Linked DNA regions of Homo sapiens: regions 1, 2 and 3 are each linked to region 4. Evidence: promoter capture Hi-C in 16 types of primary human blood cells and fetal thymus (Javierre and others, 2016). All regions are on one chromosome and are shown on one strand. Each heading gives the region's core, a stretch centred on a gene start or on the middle of the fragment in contact. The rest is flanking DNA. Distances are from core to core; before and after follow the strand shown. Region 1 holds the start of ARL5A (ARF like GTPase 5A). Region 2 has its middle 4.7 kb from the start of NMI. Region 3 holds the start of PRPF40A (pre-mRNA processing factor 40A). Region 4 holds the start of ORC4 (origin recognition complex subunit 4).

Region 1 (3,764 bases), core at 916-3,415, 3.8 Mb after region 4:
AATATTCATATCTAATTTTCTAGAACTTAACTTCATTAATTTCTCTATTAATTTCCGCCAAACTGCCATAAATGTCCCGTCAAAAATTACCACAAAATACAGGTTATAAAAACACTACTATTAGCAATTTGTAGTGATACCAGAGCACACACCCTTATTATTTACTACTCCAAGGAGCTGTTGGCAAAGTTCTCATTTATTCTTAACTTACAGAAACAAATAATTTTATCATTGACTCAAAATAGAAAGTGGTGATAACTCTTTTTCTGGCAGCACTAGAGCTCAATTCACAGTCTTGCTAAACCTCACAGCAGATGAAACACTAGCTTTGCTAAAAATAATACAAAATGATGGATGTTAAAACTAGAATAGATCTTATCTACTATAAGTACCATCAGTCTTACAGCAATGTACGTTTTAATATTTGCAATGTAGAAATAAAGTTTACAAGATTTGGAAGCTCCACAGATCCCTGGTGTTCTAGGTGAGAAAACCTAGACCAGAAAACCTGAGAGTTCAAGTGACTGCTTCCCACTCTCCTGCTCCCAACACTAACAGCCAGTCCAGTCAGAGACAGTGCTGATTAGAACTGATTTTCTCTACTTTATGAAAAATCCTCTTATCAGAAAAATTGATACTGCCCTTTCTTTCGGTATCACGTGACCTACACATCTGTGTGTGTGTGTGTGTGCGTAAAAGATACATTAGGGATCACAAGTTCTAGTTCTGCTTGCTTCCCCTAAGCTTCTTAAAAGAGCAGCTAGATCATGAAGGAGGAGGTGGTAGTAGTAGGTGTACATAATAGATGCCACCATTCACGTAAGTCTTTATTGGAAAACTGGGACGTGACACCATCAGCTTACACAACAGAAAAACACAAACTAAGTTCCTGACAGCGGAATGATGAACCACCCAACTTGAGTTAAAAAGAAACAAAAGTACACCACTGTATCTTAATAAGTATCCAGTCTTTGGGTTAAAATTGTATTCTCTTTCCCCAGTTTTAGTCATTTTGTAACAAATTTTAACAAGCCTGATAGGTATTTCATGGCCATGTCTGAAGTTGGCTGAACTTAAGCATCCCTATATAACACACTTTACACTTAGTAACTTGCTAGTTACCTATGGTTAACAAATGTTTCATATGGTATGTTTTTAAAACTTTCAGTGAAACACTTTAACATTTTTAACCCAGCAAAACAAACAAAAACTGTGTCTAATAACCCACACGAGTAGAAAAATGACCTTAAGCTTAACCTTAAACACAGATATAATAAGTAAAACAAATGGAGAGAAGTCCATCTCTATTCAGGAGGCAGAAGAACCCCCCCTGCCCCCAACACACACAAAGACGGGTGGCAGTGGAGGGCAGGCTCATAAACCAGAGGTGTAATGGACAAGTCGAGCGATTCCTCCCGTTTTCCGCATTCTGCAACCCTCGGTCGCTCAGTGGTGCGGTTAGGGCAGCAATCTATAACCTTCATTCCAGAAGACCCCAGCACTTCTATGTGGTGTCCAAACACAACTGGTGAGCAAAGAAAGGGCTGAAAGACAGGCCAGGCCGTGCTACTCAGGGACGTCGGACCTAGGGCAAGAAACCTTTACCACTCTCATTCGAAATCGGAGCAATGGGTCTATTACGGAAAAGACTTCTTAGGAAGGTCTCCTAAGACAAAGGGCTGCGAGTCAGGAACCATCCCCAAGCTCGGGAGCCGGGACCGAACCGTCCCGGGCCCGTATCCGCGCAGCCTGCACCCCGCGCTGAGCTGGCGCCCGACCGAGCCGCCCACATTCCGAAGTATTCGGAGACCCCCACCTAGCCGGCCCGAGCTGACCCTCTCCCCAACCCGTACGCCCGCGGACCGAGCTCCTCACCCTGGTGATTGAACAGTCTCCATATTCTAGTGAAGAGAATTCCCATTCTCGGGCAGCGGACCCCCCCCCTCCAGACACCCGGGCCGCCTGGCTTCCCCCGGCTCAGGCTGAGGGGGAGGAGAGAGACGCGCTGGAGCCTCCGCCTCTGCTGCTGCTCCCGCGCTGGTCGCGGGCCCGCTTCCAGGGAACCGGAGGGAGGCCGAAGCCCAGGCCGCCCTGCCGCGCGCAAGGCCCCGCCGCTGCCGCCGCGGCACTCGCCTGGCTCGCGGACATCGCCGCCGCGTTGTCTGCGACGAGCCTCGCGGGCCACCGTCCTCCCCCAGCTCCTCTCGGGCGGCTGCGGTGGCGACGACCACGCGGGCGGGGGAAGTGAAGGGGCGGGCCTGGAGGGACGTGAGTGCGCAGGCGCGCGGCCAGAGGGGCGGAGCGTAGGAAAGGGCGCCCGCCCTGTCCTCGCTTATTTGCATAACCAAGACTGCGGAAGGCGCAGGACTTTACCCTGGGACTGAGGCTGTGAAGACCGCAAGTTGGGGCAGATGGCTTCCGACTGCTTGCTGTTGCGTCCCCGAGTATTTATATTTCCCTCGAATCTTCTCCACTGCGCCATAATGTAAACATATAATTGAGTACCCCATGTCCATCCCCAACCCTTCACATACACTACACTTAAAGTTCCACGTCATGACTCTTTAAGACATTGTGTCCCCTGTGGGTCTTTGAGGGAAAAGTCTGCTGCCCTCTGACACTCAGCTGAAGTCAGTGGCCTTACCTAGATAGTCACCTTAAAGCCATTTTTGCACTTCAGGGCTCTTTTCTCTCCAATCTCTTAACTCTCACGTCAGTATTGCCCAAAACAACGATTTTGATCAAGTCACTACCCTGTTTAAAAACCTTTAGTGGCCACCAAAGCTCCATCCCTTTCTGTTCTCGTTAACCTTAGTAAAAAGGAAAATAAAGAAAAATTGGGAGACTTGTAGGAGCCATTTGAACTGCTTTGCACTCCCATCCCCAACAGCTGAATGAAATTAAGCAAAATCAGCAATAAACCGCACCTTCCCAACTCACTTCTCCTAACTACCCAGTATTTTACCTCAAAATATAGAAAAGTAATTTCGTTGACTTCTTTTGGGGCTTTATGGTTAAAAAGCCAAAGTTTAGAGGAGCCATACATGAAGGGAAGGAAAATCATAGTAATCCATATTAATTTATGTATTATCATGTCTGGATTTACTTAATATTCTGTACACTGTTTAGAAGAACAATGTAGTTTGTATAACCAATTTGCATTAACTCTGTAATATTTCCATTCTCGCACACCGTAGGTAATGCTTTGGTAGCTCTAAGACTTTTTCAGACTCCCACACAGATGTCAACTTATGAAATGGATGTCATATACACATTATGTGATGGCGGAGCTTCATATTTTACAATCTACCCAAGGAAATGGTCTCCCAGGTTATTTTCCGAGTGAAGAAAGAAGAGAGAGAGAGAGACAGAGACAGAGAGTTTAAAGACCAATTTATCTATGATTACAGAGAAATGCAAAATGTCATTGGAGAGACTTCTGACTTCAGGCATGAGAGAGTAGGATGGTTTGAATATATCCTCCTACCATTAGCAAATAGAAAACTGCACAAAGTACAGGCAACGACATTTCAGATATTGAAAAACACATCACAGTACTGTGATTCTTTGCAAAAGAGAAAGGAACAGGTGGAGTCTTACCATTTCCTGGACTTTATCCCTAAAAGCAATTCCCAGTCAACTACGGAGGAAGTGGGAACCCAAATGAGAATCTGGAAACCTCTTAGAACTGAAGACGCATATCAGCATTCCCAGAGATCAAGGTGACTAGAATTTGTGAAGCAGAGTAACTGGAAGGAGGGAGC
Region 2 (3,777 bases), core at 1,145-3,644, 3.3 Mb after region 4:
AGATCTGCAGGACCCTGGATCTTAGACTTGCAGCTTCCAGAACTGTGAAAAATAAATTCTGTTGTTTATAAACTACCAGTTTATGATGTTTTATTATAACAGTCCAAAAGGACTAATATAGCATAAAACAAATGGGAGGCACCAAGAGTTTAGTGATTATGCAAACTATGAGAAAGCTACCTGATATCTATTACATGATGATTCTCTTTTAAGAAAAGGCTACTACACCAAGCTTATGCTGCTGTTGCTAAGATTGTGTTGATCTGGTTTGCAGTTCATCCTTGGGGAAACTGGAACACTTATGCCCAGTATTGTGCAAGATCCTGGGGGGATACAAATGAATTCTGTAACTTCCTTCTAGTTTTCAAGAGTGTTCCCATTGGACTACATAAGTGGTAAAGGAAAATACTTACTCTTTTATCAGGCAAGCAGTACTGTATAGTTAAAAGCATGATTTTGGCCAGACATGGTGGCTCATGACTATAAACCCAGCATTTGTGGAAACTGAGGCAGAAGAATCACTTGAGTCCAGGAGTTCAAGGCTGCAGTGAGCTGTGACTGCACCACTGTACTTCAACCTGGGCAATAGCACGAGACCCTGTCAAAAAGTAAATAAATAAATAAAGCATGGTTTTGGTGTCAGAAATGGGTTTGAATTTCAATTTTTAGTTACTGAAGTTTCTCAGCTTCAATTTTCTCATCTATAAAATAAAGGTGTGGTGCATGAGATAGAGATGCATTTCAAGGACTAAACACAGTGCTCTGCCCATGGAAAGCACTCACTAAATTGTACTTGTTTCATCTTATACTACGGTGAGATTTTTTTTCAATTTTTCTCTTACATTTTCTTTATCTTTGTTCTTCCTCCCTAGAAAAGTACTTTTAAGAAATAAGGTCATTTAAAAATTTATTTTATGTTACCTGCAGTAACTGTACCTAGTGCACACTGTATAAATAGTTATTTCTAACTAGTCATTAAATACTAGAGTAGGAGTAAAATACTCTGGACCCAATGTTATAACAACCCCTTTGTATAGCTTTTCATACTCATGTGTGTGAATAAGTTTTTATAAGTGAATAAAATATTATGAGGTAGATCAAATACTTAGAAATAGAAATAAATTCAAGCAAAATAATAATAATAAAATTAAAGAATAAAGGACTTTATCTTGTCAAATCTGCCTGGACCACTGATTTATCATATAAACATAAACAATCACTTAGAAAATTTTGTTGTGTTAAATAAAGTACATAGAGAATAAAGTTGGTATCCTTGACAATGCTATAAAGAAGAACAATTAGTGTTTTGCTTATAAACTAAAGGCTCAAAAATAAACATTTATCTGTAGTATTCAAGGCTGTAAGATAGCAGTAAATCTCAATATTATATTAAGGAAATTTCTTAAAGAAAGTCTGAGAATACTGCTGATGTTTTCCTGCTTTGCTTTTCTCAATTATAAACCAAAAATGGCTTCTGACAGAACTCTCATAGGATGAACTGATGGTCGGATAAACCCAACTGTTTGCTTTGAACCTAAAATCACAAAGGAGAAAAAGCCCAGTGAATCTTGAGGTTTTCAGAGACCCAAAGAGAACATAGCCTTGGAATGCTGGAAAAATAAAAATATTAACTTTTATCGCCAAAAATCTCAAATGAGAAAGAATTGAGCAAAGCATCCAAATATGTCAATTCAGCTTCTCAGGGAGCTCAGTTTTTAAGAAAACATGCATAAACATAGTGAAAACAGCTAAGGAAATACTAAAAGACATGTATTTTGCTTGACTATATTTTTGTTTATTTTTGTTTTTGTTTTGTTTGTTTGTTTTTGAGATGGAGTCTGGCTCTGTCGCCAAGGCTAGAGTGCAGTGGCACGATCTCGGCTCACTGCAAGCTCCACCTCCCGGGTTCACGCCATTTTCCAGCCTTAGCCTCCTTAGTAGCTGGAACTACAGGCGCCCGCCACCACACCCGGCTAATTGTTTTTTGTTTGTTTGTTTGTTTGTTTTATTTGTTTGTTTTTTAGTAGAGACAGGGTTTCACCGTGTTAGCCAGGATGGTCTCGGTCTCCTGACCTCGTGATCCACCTGCCTCAGCTTCCCAAAGTGCTGGGATTACAGGCGTGAGCCACCGCACCCAGCCTTGACTATGTTTTTTAATTTGGGAATTTGTAGTCTGTTTTGCCTGATGGGGCTGCCAGAGGCATTCTAGAAATTGTCAAGCAGCAAGATTTGGATTGGTGTTTGAATATGTTGTTTCTGATTATTTTCCTGTCTGAAATAGTACTTTACAAGAGGTATCAAATGATTGCAACAAAGAAACTCACTAGTCACTAACCTATCCAGAATTTTAAAAAACGTAAGAGGTGGCCGGGCGCGGTGGCTCACACCTGTAATCCCAGCACTTTGGGAGGCCGAGGTGGGCGGATCACGAGGTCAGGAGATCGAGACCATCCTGGCTAACACAGTGAAACCCCGTCTCTACTAAAAATGCAAAAAAATTAGCAGGGCGTGGTGGCGGGCACCTGTAGTCCCAGCTACTCGGGAGGCTGAGGCAGGAGAATCGCTTGAACCTGGGAGGCAGAGCTTGCAGTGAGCCGAGATCGCGCCACTGCACTCCAGCCTGGGTGACAGAGCGAGACTCCGTCTCAAAAAAAAAAAAAAAAAAAAAAAGTAAGAGGCAAAGGAGCTCAACTTTTTGTACTACGTTAAATTTGTCTTCTGGTTGGTCTTAGTGAGCCTAAGTATAGGAATGTAATTCCCTCCCGCCGCCCCCCCCCCCCACACACACATATATATATTTTGAGAAAGGGTCTCACTCACCTATGCTGGAGTGTTGTGGCGTGATCTTGGCTCACTACAACCTCTGCCTTGGGGCTCAAGAGATCCTCCCACCTCAGCCTCCCCAGTAGCTGAAACCAGAGGTGCACGCCACCACGCCCAGCCGGCTAATTTTTTATGTGTATATTTTTTATAGAGATTGGGGTTTCGCCACATTTCCCAGGCTGGTCTCGAACTCTTGGACTCAAGCAATCCACCAGCCTCAGCCTCCCAAAGTGCTGGGATTACAGGCATGAGCCACCACCTAATTAATCTATCAAAATAGATTAATATGTATCTACGAAGATATATATTCGCCCAGCCTAATATATATCTTGATATAATAAATTATTTCTGTGGATCTCCCTTGAAATGTGTGGCATAGTTACAAGATAGGGAAAAATATGTTTTTGGGCAAGAAGACTTTCTGTACACCAGTGTTTGACAAACTTCCATGTCCATATAAATCAGCTGAAGATCATGTTAAAATATACATTCTGATTCTGTAGGATTAGGGTGGATATTTTGCATTCCAAAAGCTCCTAGATGATGCTGATGGTGCTGTTTCTTGTAAGAGGTGACAGCGTGCTGGCAGTCCTCGCAGCCCTCCCTCGCTCTCGGCGCCTCCTCTGCCTGGGCTCCCACTTTGGCGGCACTTGAGGAGCCCTTTGGCCCCGCCACTGCACTATGGAAGCCCCTTTCTGGGCTGGCCAAGGCCGGAGCCGGCTCCCTCAGCTTGCGAGGAGATGTGGAGGGAGAGGCGCGGGGGGAATCGGGGCTGCGCGCGGTGCTTGCAGGACAGCGCGAGTTACGGGTGGGCGTGGGCTTGGCGGGCCCCGCACTGAGAGCGGCGGGCGGCCCCGGGCAGTGAGGGGCTTAGCACCTGGGCCAGCAGCTGCTGTGCTCAATTTCTCGCCGGGCCTTAGCTGCCTTCCCACGGGGCACGGCCCGGGACCTGCA
Region 3 (3,390 bases), core at 712-3,211, 4.7 Mb after region 4:
TCCCCACCCTCCCTCACCCTCCTCCAACACACAAAGAGGAAGATATTTCAGGAATAAAATTCGCTCTAAACCAAAACAATAGCTATTTTCAGATTCTATTTATTTACATGGTCTACCAAAATCAGTTATGTTGCTGTATCAGATAATATTTACTTAGACCATCAACTTCAATTGGCATTCTTGAAAAAATAATCATTAAAAATAAAAGCCTGGATCCACACTTTACTTTTAAATAATAAAGAAAAAAATTCTTAGTTTTGAGGTCATCAGTAAATTTCTCAGAAGACTTTTTCATTATTTAAATTTCTCAGAAGACTTTTCCATTATTCAAATTTCCGTTACAGTCATGATTTAACATTTGGCTTATTTGAAATTATTCGGGCATAAACTAATCATTAAACAGCTATAACTACTGACCTAGATTCTGAAATCTTGATAGAATACCTGAGGCAAAAACAAATAAATAAATGCAAAATAAAACAAAAACAGTCTTACTTGTCCCATTGGTGGCCCTCCCATAGGGGGCATCATCTGCGGCATCATTCCATGAGGTACAGGAGGCATATTCGCTCTCTGACCCATAGGGTGCATTCCCATTGGGGCATAATGCATGCCAGGGTGCCCCATCTGAAAAACAGTGAACATTTTTAAATGAGCAAATAATACTAAATGCTTCTCAAAAATCTCATTTCAACAGATCAGTTATCTGAAGCGACATAATATTAAGCTTATGTGTAATAACATCATTGGATTAGTCTATACCTTGTTTCAAACAAAACGCATTCTGCTAGTATTTAAAACGAGCTTGCAAATTCCGTAAAAAAATGGGAAAAGTTAAGATGAATCCTGGACCGCTGGATCATAGGTTTTCTCTCTCTTTTTTTTAAGCACTGACTTAACCAGCTACTAATTGGCTTGCTAAGCTTGGAGGATACACATTGAATACTAATTTTAAAACTGTTATGGTGAAAACAACAACTCTCCTATTTCATGCAGATATAAAAGATAGCCAGCTATTGTTATTTTATAACACTACTGATTTTAAACTTTAAAATGCTCTATCCAATTAACTCAGGTGAGAGTCGGTCTTACAAAACACAAACAGTATGGCTACCCAGGCACAATTCACTCCTAACAAACTTATTTCCTAACATAACCTTTAAGACAGGTAAAATTCCTTCTGCCAAAAATACATTTTCAAAGACTGAGGTTCTGTCACTCACGGACACTAAATGCAAACAACTAATTCATCCTTTTTAACGCAGTTTAAAAAGACAACTACTTTCTTTACCGATGAGTCCATTGTTCTATGTTTTAAATTAAAACCACCTAATTATCTCCTGCCAATTGTCCCAACAGTTCCCCCTGCAGACCACCCCGACGACTAATGAAAACAAATTTTGGCAGCCGCTGTTAAAGTCTTACAGTATCAAGCCCCTGCCTCCCCCTCCCAGCTAAAATCGGGCCTAAAGCTCCAAGACGCTCACCCCGCCCAAGAGCCAGCACCTTCACCACGCATCTGTCTAGGCCAAGCCCACGGGGAACTTCCAGGGTCTCACATCCTTCTCTTTGTGCATTTCCACCCTCCACTTCTCTCCCTCAGAACATATCCCACCATCTCGAGTTCTTCCTTCGTCCACTCTTATCTTCTTCTCCTTTCGGAGAAAGCTTCCTGTTTCTCACTCCGTTTTTCATTGTGCCGCCTTCCCCCTGCCCCACTGATCCCTTACCGAGGGCCGTCTCCTCAGGAAGCCGTCAGCAGAGACCCAAGAGCCGGAGCAGAGGCTTGAGCCGGACAATCTCCGCTCCCCGTCCCCAGGACCCTGCGAGGGAGGATGGCTCTCCATTTCACTCACCATGAGGCCTCCACGCTCAGCTCCCGTCCCCGGCCTCATCGTCGGGCTCAGACTGCTCCGCCGGCGGCCACTGCCGCTACACATACCAACAAGAAGCGATCTGAGTGGCTGGCGCCCACTGGGGCTAAAGGTTAAAGGCTGCCCTGCGCTACGGGGCGGGATCAGCGGGGCCAACAGGCTGACGGGCTTCCCCGCTGTCCAATCAGAATGCGCCGCCGACACGCAGCTCTGCGGCGATTCGCCCCCAGCCTCAGCCTCACTCGGCGTCGCCTGCATGGGGGGGGGGGAGGAGGAGGACGGAGGAAGTTTCTGCGCCGAGTCCTCCGTCGGGAAAACTCTACCAACTTCCCCAGGGGAAGGGAAGACAACAGTGTCCCAGCTTCCCGAGCTTAGACCGCCTCACCCCGTAGGGGGTGGGGCAGTGGGGGTCTGCCACCTTCACCCTCCCCGCCCGAGTTACGTACGCCCCACAAACCTGAGGCCGCCAGGGGTAGGGTGGAGGGGGCGGGGGTAAGCAGCCTGTAGTGTTAGCGGTGGCTGGGACCGAATGCGCGCGCGCGGTGCTCGAGGCGGAGGGGAGGAGGCGGGGAAGGCGAAAGGAGGGGTTCGGAGGAGAGGGTTCGATCTCCGTACGCACCAGGTGGAGAGCGCGCGCCTGGGGAAGGAGGCGTGTCGAGTAGCGGGAGGGAAGTTGTAGTACGGGTGGGGAGAACCACACTAAAGGGAGATGGGGGTGAGCAGTTAAGGAACCGCGAGAGCGCCAGGTAGAGAGGTGCCCTTAATGGGGGAACCTGGAGAAGAGTGTGAGCGTAGTGGGGAAGAAGGGAGAAGACAAATAGGTTCGGGAATGTGTCTCCGAGGGCGCGAGCGGGCGCTAGGACCCGGCGTCGAAAAGATGAGGCTTTGGGGCTGTCGGGGCGCGCGCTCCCGTTGGTGACGCGGGGGTGGCGGAGGTCTCCGGCCGGGACGAAGCCCCGCAGGGAGTGGATACTCGACAGCCTTCGGCCTCCGCTCGCTTCTCCCTGCGCGCTTTCCTGCTCCCCTTTCCGGCTACAGCCCTGGGGTCGAGCTCTGGTCGAAGCGCATTCCGCCTCTCCTTTGGCCCTGCGGCTTCCTTTGCAACCCGCCGCCCACCCTTGCTCTCCGTGGTTTACCCCTGGGCTCTGAGGCCTGGTGGTAGCGGCCACTGCCGCGGATTGGCTGTTGCGGACCCGGGGCGGGGCAGGTGGGAGAGGCTCGTTCTCCGCGGGTTTCGTTGTGTTTCGCGCCATGTCGTTTGCTGAGAGCGGGTGGCGGTCGGCTCTGCGGCGCCGCGGTCCCGGCACCCCGGGCCCTGTGGCTCGGCCATCGTATTCCTCCTTTACTCAGGGGGACAGCTGGGGTGAAGGCGAAGTCGACGAGGAGGAGGGATGCGACCAAGTGGCCCGCGACCTGCGGGCGGAGTTCTCGGCTGGGGCGTGGTCAGAGCCCAGAAAGCGCTCGGTGCTCCCGCCGGACGGGAACGGGTCGCCCGTTCTGCCCGATAAGCGCAATG
Region 4 (3,761 bases), core at 589-3,088:
GTTCTTGACTGTGGCAGCGCTTACATAGAGTTCACACTTTATAGTTTTTCATTATACTATGTATCGATGTTTGTATGCTTAAATACTAAATGTATGGAAAAAGACACAAAATATTTAAAATTGTAGCTAAGGCACATTAACTGCCTTGCTGGTATTTTTTTTTTTCATTACAAAGTGGCAGACAATTGGTTACACTATAAAGACAGACAATTGGTTACACTACAAAGAAAATTTTAAAGCACAGGAGTCTAGTTTTGATTCCATCGGACATGATTACCGTACACAATACAGAAGATACTAAGGGCTAAGCAATGATGCATAAACGGGGTCCACTGCCCAAACTTACAGAAAGCAAAACGTGGAAAATTAGTAACTTTAACTGATAGTGTACACCTAAAGAACCTACACCGGCCGGGCGCGGTGGCTCACGCCTGTAATCCCAGCACTTTGGGAGGCCGAGGCGGGAGGATCATTTGAGGTCAAGAGATCGAGACCAGCCTGACCAACATGGTGAAACCCCGTCCCTACTGAAAACACAAAAAAATTAGCCAGGCGTGGTGGCACATGCCTGTAGTTTCAGCTACTCGGGAGGGTGAGGCAGGAGAACTGCTTGAACCCAGGAGACAGAGGTTGCAGTGAGCCGAGATCGCGCCACTGCACTCGTCTGGGAGACAGAGCGAGACTCCGTCTCAAAACAAAAAACAAACAAAAAGAACCCACCCAACAGAATTAAGTACCAACATAATAAATACGAAGAATTTTAGATTCTTGGTTTTTAAAAAACATACAAAGATGATATTCCTTCAAAATATCTTTACAAAACATATTGAGACTGTGATGCTTTATATTGATTGTATGAAAACAATGAAAAAGAACCAGCACTGTTTCACTATAAAAGCTTTACTAATGTAAATTTATAAATCCTTTCTTAAATATTTTGAGTTAATTCTAATTTTATGATAGAAATTCATTATTTTCAGCAAAAACAGCTGGCATTTGGGAAACCAAAGGCTCAAAAACTAAGAATAGTAACCAAAGAAACTTGACAAAACAGTCCTTTTAAAACTCTCATCTACACTATAAGGGGAAACTTTGATCACGTCCCTTCTCCTTCATCAATCGTAGAACTCAACATTAAGGACTACACAATCCCACATCCCTCTCCGAGAAAAAGCAAAGGCTTTGTGTTGTAGCAACAACGCAAGACATGGAGGGAAGCTCCACTCAAGACTTCCCTGCCTGCTCCTTCCCCAAAGCCACTCCAGAATACCAGGGAGGGTTGAGAGGTAAGGCATGAAGGGCGCAATATCCAATATGAGCAACGCGTGTGATGCATCTGGTCAAAATGCATACAGAGGACTTGTCTCTGTCCCTAGATAGAAGTCCTCCGTCCTGCAGTCATGAGGGTCAATTGCTGAGGCTTCACAGTTCCCTTCTCTCTTACACTCGGACCGTCACGCTCCTCACCTACTACCCCGATGCAGAGGTAGACTCAGGATCCCTGCACTTGTCAAGGATTCCTCGGCAAGCTCACGGGGCGGGAGTGGCCACAAGACGGAGCTCGCCTGGTCCTGGCCTTCCCGGCCTATACAAGCCTGCCCCCTTCCCAATTCCCAATCTCCACAGCCTTCCATCCTCCCACTTTCGATTCACCTTGCGCCACCGACGCCCCTGGCCTTCGTTTGCAGCAAGTTTACCCCCACCATTACCTCTCGCATAAAAGCCTGCATTTACCAGGTCAAAGAGGGGAACCAACGCCTGCAGGAATCGCTTCACCGAATCGCCTGGCCGCGTCCTCTGCTAGACTTCACCTGCCGCTGCGGACCGTACACAACCACTCCCGGCATGCCCCGCGCACGCACTACCTCTCCCACCCCGCCCCTCTCCCGCCCAAACACGTGACCTCCTTTCGTCTCCGTCCACGCCCACTTCCGTTCCTCCACTTTCCCTTAGGAAGGAGGAGGGAGCTGGGGGTGTTAAAAGCGTAGCGACTTCCTCCTCCTCCCCGCCCCCGCTCCTGTACCTCCCGCTACAATGTCTTCCGGGTCGCTAGCGCCTCGACGCCTTCTGGGAAAATAGCTCATTTCCTCCCCTCCCCCTCCTCCTGCCTTCAACCAACCAGCCACCCGTCAGAGAGGGACATGCGCAGTGAGTGCCTCCCGTCTCTTCTACCCGAACCCCCCCTCCCCCCCAAGCAGAGAGACCCCAGCAGCAGCAGCAGCTGATGATGAAGAGAGAGGCAGTGGCAGAGGGGGGGCACCTTTTATTTCTATTTTTAAAGGGACAGGACACTAATTCTACCCCACTTCAACCTTGAATTCAGGGGGGTGGGGGGAAGGCGGCTGAGTTCCTTCCCCCACCCTCCAGCCCTGAGCCCTGAGAGGGGGATTGAGCCTGAGAGAGGAGAAGGAGTTTCTTCTTCTTCGAAAACCCCCATCCACGACTCCTACCCCCTCACCCCTCCAACTCGCCTCCCTCCCTCCACCCTCCTCCTCTTTGGCCGTGAGAGGAGGAGAGAAAGAAACCAAAAGCCTCTTAGCAACACAGACCCTTTGCTGCTGCTGTTGCTGCTGCTGCTGCTGTTGCTGCTGCTGCTGCTACTGCTGCTGCTGCTACTGCTGCTGCTTGGCCCTGGCTGGAGACATCTCACTACACCCAGGAGCAGCCACTTCCCCAGCTCTCCTCCTCCTCCTTCGCCTCCTCCTCCTCCACTCCCCCCCTTTATTACCCTTTGTGTCATCCTCCACAGCTCCAGGGAAGGCACTCAAAAGTGGGGGGCAGGAAAGGTAAGTGTGTCTGTGGGGGCTTCATTGCCTTCCTCTGGCTCTGACTTTCACTCCGGGGCAACAGTAGCACCAAACCACATACGCAGTGGAGCTCCGGGGTGAGGAGGGGGTGGTGCTGGGGGGGGTGAAGGAGGGGTTGGAGTAGGGAGGGGTGTGTGAGGTGGGGTGCCCATCCTGTCAGGGGAGGAAGGGCACTTTTATTTTTATTTGCTGTTGTCAAAAGTGGTTTCTCTCCTCCATCTAACATCTGATTGTGTCTTGCTCCAGTGGGGGAGAATACAAAAACAACCCCCTCCTTCCTCCAATGAGGCGCCAGGGAAAGAGACAGAAAGAGGCACACTTTCTAGATGTCACTTAAAAAAAATTCATTGGAGAGCTCTTTTTCTCCAGGAAAAGCTCCACTGCATTTGTTTCTGAGTGGGAAAATGTCGGGATCTGGATTGTATTGGAACTGCTTATCCATTTGTAGACCTGAGTGTTTTCCCCTTTTTGGTCCTGTATGAGATTTGGATATTGACTTCAGTGTTGGAAGACTTGATTGGTTTTTGCTTTAAGGGTTTCATTTTCCATTTTTTCGTTTTGTCTGACTTCCATGGAAAATTTCAAATTTTTAGTTGGTAGAGGCCTTTGGTTAGGTTTTGACTTGCATTATTGCTTTTTTTTTGGTTAAATGTCTGTTTCATATATCAGTATATAAAGTCCAAAGCTCTAAAATGCTTAAAGTTTAAATGCCACTGCTATTGTCTGTTCCCACATACGTTCCTGATACTTATTTTCCATATGATGAGAATATTAGCTATTTTATAATTAATCTGGGTATATTTGTAATCTTTGTAACTTGTCTGAACAAGTAATCCCCATTGAAAACTTTATGTTGTTCTGGCTGCATGGAAGGCCAAACCTCTCCATCAATAGTTTGCTGGATTGGTACCACTTTCAGTTTTAGCTGAATTATTTATTTACTGTTGTAAATTG

The links. Contacts are between HindIII fragments. The CHiCAGO score rates a contact against its expected background, and 5 or more counts as called.
Region 1: a contact is called between the fragment with the promoter of ARL5A here and the fragment with the promoter of ORC4 in region 4, in 2 of 17 cell types (fetal thymus and total CD8 T cells). The highest score is 7.6, in fetal thymus.
Region 2: a fragment that was not itself captured here is called in contact with the fragment with the promoter of ORC4 in region 4 in 2 of 17 cell types (naive CD8 T cells and total CD4 T cells); the score reaches 6.6 in naive CD8 T cells.
Region 3: a contact is called between the fragment with the promoter of PRPF40A here and the fragment with the promoter of ORC4 in region 4, in 2 of 17 cell types (fetal thymus and total CD4 T cells). The highest score is 6.9, in fetal thymus.

Annotation. Positions count from the first base shown.
Region 1 is chr2:151,826,256-151,830,019 of GRCh38, forward strand. It overlaps ARL5A (ARF like GTPase 5A), which reads right to left and starts at 2,166. Exons shown (of 6, transcript NM_012097.4): 1 at 1,876-2,166. The coding sequence starts at 1,921. RefSeq lists silencers at 1,782-1,831, 1,882-2,391 and an enhancer at 2,442-2,491. The HindIII fragment of the contact is 9,661 bases long and covers 1,250-3,764 here.
Region 2 is chr2:151,292,439-151,296,215 of GRCh38, forward strand. No RefSeq gene overlaps it. Among named protein-coding and RNA genes, the nearest start is that of NMI, 4.7 kb to the left of the region's middle. The HindIII fragment of the contact is 4,328 bases long and covers 231-3,777 here.
Region 3 is chr2:152,715,500-152,718,889 of GRCh38, forward strand. It overlaps PRPF40A (pre-mRNA processing factor 40A), which reads right to left and starts at 1,962. Exons shown (of 26, transcript NM_001365597.4): 1 at 1,731-1,962; 2 at 496-627. The coding sequence starts at 1,940. It overlaps ARL6IP6 (ARF like GTPase 6 interacting protein 6), which reads left to right and starts at 3,121. Exons shown (of 4, transcript NM_152522.7): 1 at 3,121-3,390. The coding sequence starts at 3,126. RefSeq lists enhancers at 1,662-1,961, 2,510-3,215, 2,682-2,751, 2,772-2,861, 3,092-3,291 and 1 more and a silencer at 2,362-2,461. The HindIII fragment of the contact is 8,844 bases long and covers 1,667-3,390 here.
Region 4 is chr2:148,018,899-148,022,659 of GRCh38, forward strand. It overlaps ORC4 (origin recognition complex subunit 4), which reads right to left and starts at 1,839. Exons shown (of 14, transcript NM_181741.4): 1 at 1,735-1,839. MBD5 (methyl-CpG binding domain protein 5) reads left to right here and starts at 2,193. Exons shown (of 14, transcript NM_001378120.1): 1 at 2,193-2,786. RefSeq lists enhancers at 1,484-2,081, 2,261-2,360 and a silencer at 1,751-1,910. The HindIII fragment of the contact is 3,631 bases long and covers 897-3,761 here.